Linked DNA regions of Homo sapiens: regions 2 and 3 are each linked to region 1. Evidence: promoter capture Hi-C in 16 types of primary human blood cells and fetal thymus (Javierre and others, 2016). All regions are on one chromosome and are shown on one strand. The core of a region is centred on a gene start or on the middle of the fragment in contact, and the rest is flanking DNA. Distances in the headings are between cores, read along the strand shown.

Region 1 (4,138 bases), core at 631-3,130:
CACTCTTTCTCTACAGGTTCCCTGTCTTACAGGATGGAACCAGTCTGCCCAAGGGATCCCAGGTCCAAGAGACTTTCGAGGTTGGGGTCTCTTAGTCCCAATTCCATATTCTAAGGGAGGGCCTGTGATGGATTTATCTAGTTTCACCCACACTAAGCAACTGTATATAAAGACTCTTCTGCTATTATCAGCTCAACGGAGGGGAAAGGAGAAGGAAGGCAAAATGTGTACACCCCAGCATCTCCCATTCTTACTTGATCGTGAGACATTTCTTAAAGGAACATCTATTAACACTGAACACAGCACACTAGGGAAATGCTGTCGTGGGTGATGGGGAGCAATGAGATGGTTGAAGCAGAGGCCTGAGCGCCAGGAATTGGATTTGCATTTTAGATAGCAGTGAGCAGAACTGATTGGAGGGAGTGAGACTGGAGACAGGAAAGCTGATTAAGAGCCAGCTACAGAAATCCAGACCTGGGAAGCAAGGCTAGCATTAGTGAGGAGGCAGAGGAAGACTGTCTCCAGAATTACTTGGGAAGTAAAAATCTGCGAGGCTTGGTAAGTTATTTATATTTGGAGTCGGGGTAAGAGGAAGAGACAAGGATGGTTCTCAGAGGTGTAATTTGGGGAATGAATAGGTGGTGACACTGCCAATTACAGAGACAGTACAAGAGTGGGGGGTAGGGGATGGGTGTGACTTCAGTTTTTAACATGCTTGGTGACAAGAAAATTCAAGTGAAAATATCTAGAAGCCTGAAATATGAGCCTAAGGTAGGGGCTTGGGATGGATTTCAATGTCAGACATTTTTCAGTAATAGTTAAAAACCGAAGAGCCCATGTGTATTCAACAGGCACTTGCGGGCACAGTGTGAAACAAAACACAAGGTCCTTGCCCTCGTGGAGCTCACAGTCGCCTAGGGAAGACATATATTAAGCAAACTATACGGGAGGCCCTGAATATTTACGAAGTGCAGCATGTCAGGAGAGCCAGGAGCTGTGCAAACAAACCATCAAGAACAAATCGGACACGGTGCCTGTTACAGCTGTGTGACCTGGAGCCGGTTAGGTTAGAATCCTGGAATCACCACTGCTTTGCATGGGGGTCCAGGACAGCAAGGCAGATTTGGAGTTTCCAACTAGCCTGTAAACGGGGAAGGAGAGAGCGCTTAGTACGCGAGAAAAAGAAACAGCCAACGAGTGAGAATCACTGGCCCAGCTGGAGAACGACCTGAGTTTCCTTTGTGTGCACCGGGACCAAGCACTGGGGGCCGACAATTTGCTGAGAGCTGGCTCCACCTGCCTGGGGTGCAACCACGAGAAGAGTGACAGCCCTCTCGCAGGGTACAATCTTCCACCCCCAGATGCATCTCCCTCGTCTGGTTGTGGGGAGGTACAGAGTGAAAGTTAAAGGCCTGAATTAACGTCCGGCTCTTGTGGGCGCCAGCACTCTGGAAGCGAAATGCCAGGAGTACCCCACGGTGGGCGGCGCGGGCGCAGACACCCGCACACCCAGTTGGGGGAAAACAGTGAGCAACCGGGTAGGAAGCCGAGGGTAAGAAGATTCAGAAGGCGAGGCCCCACGCGGGAAGACAGTCGAACACAGCGTTTGGCAACAGTACGCCTGCGCTCTCCGAGCCCGCCGCGGCGGAGCCCAGGAGGGAAGCGCGAGCCCGCAAGGTGAGGGCGGGGGAGGGCACGCCGGAGAGGCGGCCAAACACGTGAGAGCGCGGAGAACGTGCGCACGCGCAGGGCGCCCCCGGCCCGCGCGGCGGCAGCGCGGGAGCAGGGACGCAAGGCATTAAAAGGAGCCGCGCCTTGGTGAGCGCTCCCCCTCCCCTTTCTCCCGGGGTGCACTGCGCGCGCCCGGTGGGCGGGGGGGAGGGGAGGGCAGGCGGCGGTGGCAGCCATGTTGTTGTGAGTCTCTGTGTCTCACCCTCGGTACTTCGGTGGTTCGGAGGAGGAGGGGGAGGAGAAGGAGGAGGTGGGGTGGGGGGGGAGGGTGGTAGGTGGAGAAAGAAGACATTGCCGCCACCGAAGGCGGAGGAGGGGGAGGACCGCCAAGAGCGACGCCGCCGTGTGCCCAACGGTCGGTGTCCCCGGCTGAGGCAGCGCGGCCGCAGCAGCCCTGTAAGTCAGTCCGCGTTCGCTCTTTCTCCGGTCCTTTGGCGCCGTCGAGGATGGCTCCCCAGGCTTTGTGCGGCGGCCTCGGCGGGAGCCGATCGCCAGCGGGAGGGCGGATAGGGCCTGCTGAGTGCCCGGGCCGGTGCGGCCTGGGGCCCGCTCGCACAATGCAGGGGGAGGGGTGCCGGAAGGGGGTGTGCGCGTGCGGGGGAGGGGGCGCCGCGCCGGCCGCTTTCCCGCTTCCTTCCCTCTGCGGGGCCGCCGCCTCGGGGGCGTGGGGCGCCGACCCGGTTCTCCCTCCGATTCGGCGCGCTGGAGGTTAGAGACCGAGCTGTCGGCCCTAGGGTTCGGAAAGAGGGGAGAGGCCGGGTGGCCCCAGAGAAGCATGCGGATTGCAAGTGGGTGAAGAGGAAGGAGTGGGTTTATGAAAACAAGTGTGGGCATTTTCAAAGGCCCGAGTGTGTCCGGGAAAAGCTTGCCGTGGACAGATGTGGGTATGAAGCAGTGACTTGGATTCGCCTTGTTTAGGTTATAGGAACGGATTTCGATATTCAGAAAAATATGTAAATTAAAACCAAAGACAAGATTAGCGGCTTCTACTATTTGAGCAGTAGTTTTGTATCTGAATTGGGTCAGGTTTTGGGGAAAATGTTTAAAGTTTCATGCCCAAACACGTGTAAAAGTTAGTGTTGTTTCTGAAAACACAGCCAGAGAAAACCTACTTAACTTAGCTTTTTATTCTAACATACGTAAACTTTTGAAGAGAGGAATGTATTGCCAGCATATTAGGTGCAATAAGACATCATGTTAGGACTTAGTACTTTGAGATTTTTACTTGTTGAGAAAACGGGGCAGATGTTTTGGTGAAGGAAAACATGAGAAAAATGCTTGTAAACGGTGAAGAGAAATGTAATACCTGTAAAGGTACTGTATGTCAAGAAAACAATTTTAATAAAGGGAGTTACCGAAGGATTTTAAAAGCTTGTTTAATGGTTAGATTTCGTGTTTAACAGGTGACTCTTCACCATGTGACCTGGAGTATTGGAAGATGACTTAAGGAATCCTGTAAATAAAAAAAAAAAAACAAAAATGAGTATTTTCAACTTGTTTCTCTTCCTAGCCTCCTTTTAAACAATGATTTACTTCATTTGCTCAATCATTATGAATAAAAATGATGGCATTTTCCGTGCTGCAAGAATTTCTTTAAAATTCCGATTTTTGGTGAAATTGCATTGTGTAGAATTTTCTTGGTGTGCATGAGGGCAGTTTTTGTATGCAGAAAAGGTTTACGATAATCTTAAAAATAAAATTTTATTTCAGAAACCTGGTTCTTGAGGATTTAAGTCCAGTTTTTAAATTTTGTTTACAGGTCTAGCTATTTTGAGTTATAATTGCCAGTAACTTACGCATTTTCCAGCAATTTAAGCTGTGTTTAACACATGCTTTCCTTAATTTGAGTCCAAAGTTCTCTTAGGTGTTTCAGCATTTAGCAAGATTTCAACTTTTTAAAAGAGCCTAAATTAATTACTGACATTTACTTTGCTCTTACAAAGCTGTCACTTTAGAATAAATTCTCAGGCATTACAAATACTGTATATAAATTACCAAATAATACTTGGATTTTGTTTCTCTCAAGCATTCCATACTTGTTTATGAATCTTTTTTTCTTGTTTGAGACAGGGTCTGGTTCTGTCGCCCAGACTGCAGTGCAGGTGGTGAGATCTGGGCTCACTGCAGCCTCCGCGTCCCGGGCTGCAACTGTTCTTCCACCTGAGCCTTCCGAGTAACTGTAGCTGGGGGTACAGGCGCACGCCACCACGCCCGGCTAATTTTTGCATTTTTTGTAGAGACAGGGTCTCACTGTGTTTCCTGGGCTGAACTCCGATCTCAAGCGATCCTCCCGCCTCGCCCTCCCAGAGTGCCGGGATTACAGGCGTGAGCCACCACACCCGGCTTGTTTATAAACCTTTCTGGTGTGGAAAGATAATTTGCCTTCCGGAGTAGGTACTTATCTTAG
Region 2 (4,138 bases), core at 559-3,058, 980 kb before region 1:
ACAAAACAAAAAAAAACAGCAACTAGCAGTGAGCTGGCATGCAGTAGGTCCCTAACTGAAATATATGAGTAGAAGGCAGTTGAAGATGGTGATTTGTATGTGTTGTGTTCAGACAATGTAGGAAATCAGTCCTTTGACAGCAAAAGAAGAAAAGAAAAAAAATAAGACGAATCTTCATGGTTTGCATAAAAGTGTAACTATTACAGGTGGCCCAATTCCCAGTTACTTTGTTCCTGACACCAGAGACCTGTTTTTCAATCAAAATTGCAGCAGCTGTGGAGCTGTAAGGCTGGGCTGGCACCTGGGTCAGAGGTTCCCCATTAGTGCTGGCAGATTTTTCATAATCAAGACACTTCTGAAATGCTGAACCCTACGCAGTGCCAAAGGTTAACGATTCAGTGTGCAGGGACTGAAGCGCAAAGCAGGGCATCAGACAGCTCGGAGAGTGACGCCACCAGTGGACCTGTTTTTGCTGCTCCAGTTACATTCTTGAATCTATTGGACATTTGCCTCCTTGCTGAAGAGTCATTCTGCAGAGAACACTCATTAAGCAGGCTGCATTAATCCTGTTTTTCTAACCCTGGTTCATGTTTATGCATTTGACAGTCAACATTTTTGAGCAGTCCCTCTGTACACCATTGAGTCTGGTTATGCACATGCAAAGAGAATTGGAGAGTGAAGGGGTCACCTGCTGAGTTCAGTGTAAACTGGCAATCTAGACAGTTTTGCATAACAATTACAACTTGCCTGTTGTTGCAAAATATTAGTGGTATATGAGAGACTACTTCATTCCACTTCATCCCCACTGATGTGTGCTGTTTCAGATCATGATTAGTGAGCAAAATAAACTAAAATTAATTTTGATTAAAATTTGGTGACATTCCTTAAGAAAACTGGTGATAACCTGTGGTGTCAGAGCTGGGGATAATTGTTTCAAGAAATCAGTCTCTCTATAATCCATTAAACTTTTATATCTCACTGCTTTTTTTTCCTTTCAAATAACATTACAGAGGATGTTTTATAAAACATATACAGCTCCTCGGCTGTTCTTGGATATCCTACTGTCATTTAAAACTCAATATATTCCAAAGAGAACTAGCCAATCCCCTACTTCCCCTGCCCCATATCATTTCTGGCCTTCTTTGTTTTTCCATTTCTACTAATGATTTCATTCTGTAGCTTAAAAGCTTCAATTTCCTTCATTCAAAATACCAGCTTAGCCTTTTAAGTCTAATCAAACTTGAAAAATGGTTCCTATAGAACAGGAAACATTTCCTATGCTATAGTATACTATAGGGTTCTCCAGAGAAACACAATCTATATATATTCTATCTGTAGCCTATGTATATATATCCTCTATAGACACACACGTGTGCACGCATATATATATTTATATCCTGTATATAAATTTTCTATATTTTATATGTATATCCTATATATAAAGAAATTTATTATAAGGAATTCGTTCATGTCATTAGGAAGGCCAAGTCTAAGATCTACAGGGCCAATGTCATAGTTTAAGTCCAACAGCCAGTAGCTGTGATAGAGCTGATGAAGAGCTGATGTTTCACTCAAAAGGCATTCAAACGGGCTAATCCTTTCATATTTGAGAAAGGGTCAGCCTTTTGCTTTATTCAAGCCTTCAACTGATTGGATGAGGCCCACCATATTGTGGAGGAAAATCTGCTTTAGATTAAGGTTAAGATTTTAACCTTAATCTAATCCATTAACACCCTCACAGAAACTCAGAATGTTTGACCAAACATCTGGACATCCAGTGGCCCAGTCACATTGACCCATAAAATTAGCCATCACAATATGGCTCGAAGAAGTAGTATTTTATCCCTTCTTCTTGGGTGATCTCAGAATTTCTTCTACACTGTTGAAGAGACTTGGCTAGCATTCCTGCCTTCAGTCTCTCTCCCTCTCTGCTCACAAGAGTACTTCCAGACTAGTCTTTGACATAATTGTATTGCACTACAGATAAATCACACTGACCTCTGACTTCCTGTCTCCACCTGGCTTCTGCTCCAGTTTCTCACTCCCAGAGACTTCCTTGATTCCAGCCTATAGTTTTTCTTCTTTTTTGGAGTTTTAGAACTTCTTGAAAGTGTGCTGGAAGCCAGGCCTTCCTTGAGTTCCAATGTGACCACCCTGTGCATTTAGTTTTCCAATATGAAACTAATATAGCAATATATATTTATTGTGGTTATTGTGTATATTTCTACAGATACTAGATATTTCTCCCTTTATGGTATATATTTCTCTGTATATATAGTCATATACCTATAGGAAAATACACAGATAAAGTCTGGAAACAAAGACCACTCAAATGAGAACAAGCAAAGATCATTCAGAGCTTGCTAGAGCAAGGACATTACTTCCAGTTCAGAGACACTAAAGGTAGGCAGTGGAGTATAAAAGCTTTATAATGAACAAAAAGGGAAGATTCAGATATGCCACTATTGGAGGTTTTTGGCATAAGGGAAGCTGGAGGTAGGCTCACTAGAATCAGGGCATCCTGTGTAATTGGAAAGGAGAGCGTATTTAGCTTCCCCTGGTTAGTTCTAAACTGGAAACAGGGCAAAAGATAGTGCAGCTGGCAGTTATTGATTCAACTCCTGACTGTTTGGGGCTGATTGCTACAGAGGTTGTGGTTTGTCCTTCTGGACTGATTGCTACAGATTGCGAGTCAGAGTTCTATTTTTATATACGGTCTGGCCATTCTCTATTTGTAAAATCAGTTTCTCAAGAGAGAGACGAGACAGAGAGAAATTCTGATGAGATTAAGATAGTATTAGATCAAGGCTTAAACCACCCAATCCTGTCCTAGAACACTACAATGTGAAAGGTCTCCGAGTGAAATAAATACATCCAGAGGGTAAGGTGCAGCTAGATCATACTGATACCTGATGTTTGGTCCCAAGCCCTAACATGTGGCTCTAATGAGCAAGAGGAAGGACTGTTTTTCCTTGTGCTGGGGAAACCAAAGGCCCTACCTTCTCTGCTTCTCCTAAGCCTGGATTGGGATCTTGCCTCCTACTACTTTAACATAAGGAAGGAGAGTCCATGCCAGGCTCCAGGCACCAGAGAGAAGGACAAAGAGAAAAAGATCGCAGGAGAGAATACTTCCCCAATGGCAACAGCTTCTGCCCTCTTGTCCATGCCTGCTTTCTCATATACCCACTTCTAGGAGGAGAAGAAGAAGAAATAGTCAAAGATACAAAGTGTCATTTTAATTCCGGCAAGACAAAAGCAAGAGAAGAGTCACCCATATCTGAGCAAAACCTTATAATTACACAAAGTTATTTTACTTCCTAATATATTACTCAATAAAATATGCCCAGATTTGATTCCGCCAGAGAGTCTGGGGTGTTTTAAACTCCCTCTTCACAAAAGCTAATATATAAATTAATTTTTGCAGTTTTTCTCTGTTTTTTTTTTTTTTTTTTACTAACAGCCCACACTTTTCCCTTGTCATTTTTTCTCTGAAAAGACAGTTTGTTAAGGTTTTACAGAACTACATTACAGAACTAAACCAAAATTTAAGCAATTCCCTACTATGAACATTTATGGTTTTTTTCCTAATTTTCACTATAAAAATAATGTAGTACTAGGAATCCTTATGCAATAGTCATTACACAAATCTCTGATTATATCCTAAAGAAAAATTCCTGGAAATGGAATTACTTGCTGAAAGTTCTGGACATTTTAAGAATACATATTCTTAAGACTTAATACATGCTTCCAAATTACCCTGCGAAAATGATTATGCGAAATTACACCCTCAACAGTAGAGTAGAAGAGAGGCCAATTTACCACAACCTCTTCGCAGCTTTTCTCTTTGCAAAGTAAATAAATGAAAAAAATATGTTATTTTAAATTCACATTCTTGTTGGTCACTTACATTTCTTCGTTTAAAAATGGTTTATAAACTTTATATATTTTCTACTAAGGTACTCATTTTTATGTTGATTTATAAAAGGGCATTTAACTGAATTGGAATTAATTTTGTTACACGAGGTAGAAATCTAACCTGAGTATGCTCTTCAAAGGTAAATCAACTGTTCTGGTTCTAATTGTTGAATAATTAATTTTTCCAAGGATCTGAAATACTATCAAATCACATGAATGTATA
Region 3 (4,138 bases), core at 731-3,230, 880 kb before region 1:
ATATTCGGGGTAGGAATAGAAATTGAGAAGCTGGTTCTTAGATTTACATCAAAACACAAAGTACCTAGGCTAGCCGAAACAACTTCTAAAAGGAACAAAATTGGAAAACTAATGCTACCTTTTATCAAGTCTTAACACAGAATTAAAGGAATCAAGATGGTTTGGTAGTGGCATAAGGATGGCCACACAGATATACTGAATAGAATGCAGAGTCCAAAAATATATACATACATGCTCAATTGATTTTTAACAAGTGCCAAGGTAATTCAATTTGAAAGGATGCTTTTTTTCAATAAATGATGCTGAAAGAACTGGATATTCATTTAAAACAAATACGAACTTTGATTCTTACCACACCTCATACACACAATAAATAGTGAGAAGTAAATCAGAGACCTAAACATAAAAAGCTAGAATGTTAAAACTTTCTGAAGAAAATATAGGAAAAAACATGTATAATGTTGGAATAGGCAAAAATTCCTTAGATAGCATGGCAAAGTCTTAAACTCTAAAAGAATAGGATTCCGTCAACTGATTAAGATCTGCTCTTTGAAAAACAACATGAAGAAAACAAAGTGGCAGAATATTTCAATAAATGTATCTGATAAAGACTGGTATCCAGAACATAGTATTTTTTAAGCCTACAATTCAAGAATAAAACAACAAATAACCCAAATTTTAAAATGGGCAAACTTTGGAAAAGACACTTAAGCACAGAAAAAGATGTTCAATGTGACCAGTAATAAGAACAAAATGCAATTTAAACTATTAATTTGATGCTACCGCATGCTCACTAAAATGCTGAAAATCTGAAAAGTTAACAGCACAAATGTTGGTGGAGCAACTTAAACTTTTATGCATTGCTGGTGGGAATTTAAATAGTAAAATCAACTCAGAAAACAATTTGGCAATTTCTTCAAAGTTAAATAAGTACCTATCCTATGTCCCAGCAATTTCATTCCAGGTGTTTACTCAAGAAAAAATGAAAATATATGCCCACATAGAGACTTGTAGAGGAATATCTTTAGTAAAATTATTTATAAGAGTCACAAATTGAAAACAACCCACATGCCCATAAACAGGAGTATAAAGAAATTGTGGCATATTTATACCATGTAATACTATTCACTAGTTAAATAGAAAAATCTATTGTTATCGACAACATGGATGAATCTCACAAAAGCTGTAATGAAGGAAAGAAACTGCACTGAACAAAATACACCCTGAATTATTTATTTTACATGAAGATCAAGAGGAGAAAAATCTACTCTACACAGATAAAGCCCAGAACAGTAGCTGCCTTTGGCTGGGAAAGAATTTTTTAGAAAGAGGGATGAGAGCATTCTGGGATGAGAGTGAGGTCTTGATAAAGATGTTTGTTACAGGAATTTATACATTTCTCAAAACTCAACAAACCACACACTTAAAATGGGTCTATTTTATTCATGTAAATCATACCTAAATGAAAAAATAAAGTATTCCTTGATAATAGCAACAATTCAAATGTAATATTTATATATGCCATTTATAATAGAAAAATTCTAAGTGAATGTAGCCATACACAAGTCTTCCCAAATTAATCTATCAATAACGTCAACAGAATATTTTGCAGAACTCAACAAGCTAATATTAAAATTTATATTAAAGAAGAAAAGGCCAAAAGTTATCACAATAATTGTGAATTAAAAGACTGAATAACGCAGCATGTCCTGACAAATGTGGAGACTGACTCTAAAGCTACAGCAAATAAGGCAATGTGATATTAGCACAGGAATAAGCAAACAAACAAAAAACAAGTATACAGAAATGTATACAGAACACAGGTAGCACTAAAATCCATAGTTAGACTAGCCAATTGTGTTGGGAAAACTATTTATCTACACGGAAAAAATTATGTCCCCACTTCACACTATACATTCATGTCGGTATTAAATAAACTAAAAAGATAAGAGTGGGACTTTAAAACTTTTAGATAAAAAGATAAATCCATACCTTTATGGCTGTGAGGTATTATAGAAAAGAATTTAAGAACATACATGCATGCGTGTGTATGCATGCACATAGACACAGTAACAGATAACACATAGACACAGTAACAGATAAGACTGATATATCTGGCTCTATCAATTATTTATTACTTATTAACAAACCACCCAAAACTTAATGGCTTATTATGCTCACAAATCTGCAGTGTAAGTAGGCCTTGTAAGCAGGGATGACTTGTCTCTTCTCCACATCTAGTGCTACTTGACTGAGGGTAACCCTCTGTCAGGATGGCTCTCTCACAGGCTGGAGAGCTCATGCAGGCTGGCAGCTGCAAGCTCAGCTGGAGCTGCAGACCAGGGGCCTTGGTTCCTTGCCTCATCAGCCTCCCCGTAGTCCGCTTGCACTTCTTCACAGCATGAGGGCTGAATTCCAAGACAAAGTATTCCAAGATAACCTGGCAGAAATAGCATTTTTGTGTGTGACTTGGCATTAGAAGTCACCTAACAACACTTCTGCCAAACTGTACTGGTCAAGGCAGTCACAGGGTCTCTCCCAATTTTCTGTGTAAGAGACATAGGTTCCATCTTTTGAGGGAGTGGCAAAGTTCTAGAAGAGTCTGTTGGACAGCAGACACCCTTGTGGCTATCTTTGGAAAATACAATCTGTCACACCGATTAAATTAAAAACAAAAATGTCACAAAGATTAAAAAAAGCTACAGACTAGCAGAAGCATTCAACACATGCTACTGTGAAATATATATCCACAATGTATAAAGAACCCATACAAAGCAATATTAAAAATGCAAACAATCCAGTAAAGAAAATAGTAGAGGATACCAATAGATTTCTTATAGAACAGGAAAGCCAAAAGACCGATAAAAATATGGAAAAATGCTCAACCACAGTTTCAACTTCATTTCTAAGTCTTCTGGGAAACATAAATTACAAAAATTAGAAATAATTTTAAGTACAACAGATTGGCAAAAGCAGCAAGTCAATGTCAAGTGTTTGCAATGACGAAAAGAAACCAGAAATCTTACATACTATTTGTCAGAGTTTTAAGTGATTACTTTCGAGTATTATGTAACTCTGGTAAAGCTGATGATATACACAACCAATTACTCAATTTCCACCTCCAGCTTTATATGTAGAGAACACTCACATACATGCAGTAAGAGAGACTGCTACAGAAGAATGTTTATTGCAGTATTGTTTGGAATCGTGAAAAATTAAAAACAATGCAAATGTATATCAGTAAAAGAATGGCTGTATAAATTGTGTATGTTTGTGCAATGAAATATCATATACCGTAGTAGTCATTATAAAAGAAATGAAGTAGCTCTACAATAATAAAAATCATAATACATGCAAGAATATTGAGCAAAAAAGCAAGTTGCAGAATAGTATGTCAATATAATGTCATTTACGTAAAGTTGGAAAACATGAAAAACAATCCTATGTATTGTTTAGGAATATATACATATTTTGAAAACTGTGAAACCCATGTACAGTCATACTAAACACAAAATTTAAAATAGTAATTACCTTCAGAAAGGGAAGAAAGAAGGATGTACAATGAGATCAGATGTGGGTGCCCAGCATCCTCCAGCTTCAAGCAAAAGTTTTTGTTACATTAAAATCAGATGCAAAGATGGCAACATTTTAATATTGGTAATGGTTGTTTATTATCCTCAAGGACACAATTCTGTACATTTGAAATATATCTTAATAAAGTCCCATGTTTCTATACCAAAGCTCCACGGAATGAACCTAATAGTTAATCTAATCCAACAATCCTTTCCAACATGGTATAAAACTCATTTTACAGATGTAGAAACTGATGTCCAGAAAGAAGACTAGACTTCCTTAAAGCTACGTGGTGAGTTACTAATGTTAATGAGACAAGGGAAGTCTCCTGACTCCCAGATTAGCCCTCTTCCTCTATACTGTACTCTTCAGGAGGATTTTAAAATGTGATCTTGGCTGCAACTCTCTGACCCAGACAAGAGTGACAGGTGTGAAAATTATTTCTGAAGCAAATCATACAGAAGAGGAATGGCAACTCGATGATCCTTCATACCTAGGTTGAATTATAGATCTAGGTAGAGCACGGCCTAAAACTCTGCCATTAAATAATCATTCTTTTGACTTC

Evidence for each region. Contacts are between HindIII fragments. The CHiCAGO score rates a contact against its expected background, and 5 or more counts as called.
Region 2: a contact is called between a fragment that was not itself captured here and the fragment with the promoter of PUM2 in region 1, in 1 of 17 cell types (M2 macrophages). The highest score is 5.9, in M2 macrophages.
Region 3: a fragment that was not itself captured here is called in contact with the fragment with the promoter of PUM2 in region 1 in 2 of 17 cell types (M1 macrophages and monocytes); the score reaches 7.2 in M1 macrophages.

What each region holds. Positions count from the first base shown.
Region 1 is chr2:20,348,586-20,352,723 of GRCh38, reverse strand. It overlaps PUM2 (pumilio RNA binding family member 2), which reads left to right and starts at 1,880. Exons shown (of 21, transcript NM_015317.5): 1 at 1,880-2,127. RefSeq lists enhancers at 521-1,150, 1,358-1,447, 1,151-1,782, 1,783-2,412 and a silencer at 1,608-2,497. The HindIII fragment of the contact is 4,637 bases long and covers 1-2,597 here.
Region 2 is chr2:21,329,692-21,333,829 of GRCh38, reverse strand. The region is part of intron 2 of LOC105374318 (a long non-coding RNA gene); the gene reads right to left. Among named protein-coding and RNA genes, the nearest start is that of TDRD15, 210 kb to the right of the region's middle. The HindIII fragment of the contact is 1,237 bases long and covers 1,190-2,426 here.
Region 3 is chr2:21,233,141-21,237,278 of GRCh38, reverse strand. The region is part of intron 1 of LOC105374317 (a long non-coding RNA gene); the gene reads right to left. Among named protein-coding and RNA genes, the nearest start is that of TDRD15, 110 kb to the right of the region's middle. The HindIII fragment of the contact is 5,187 bases long and covers 1-4,138 here.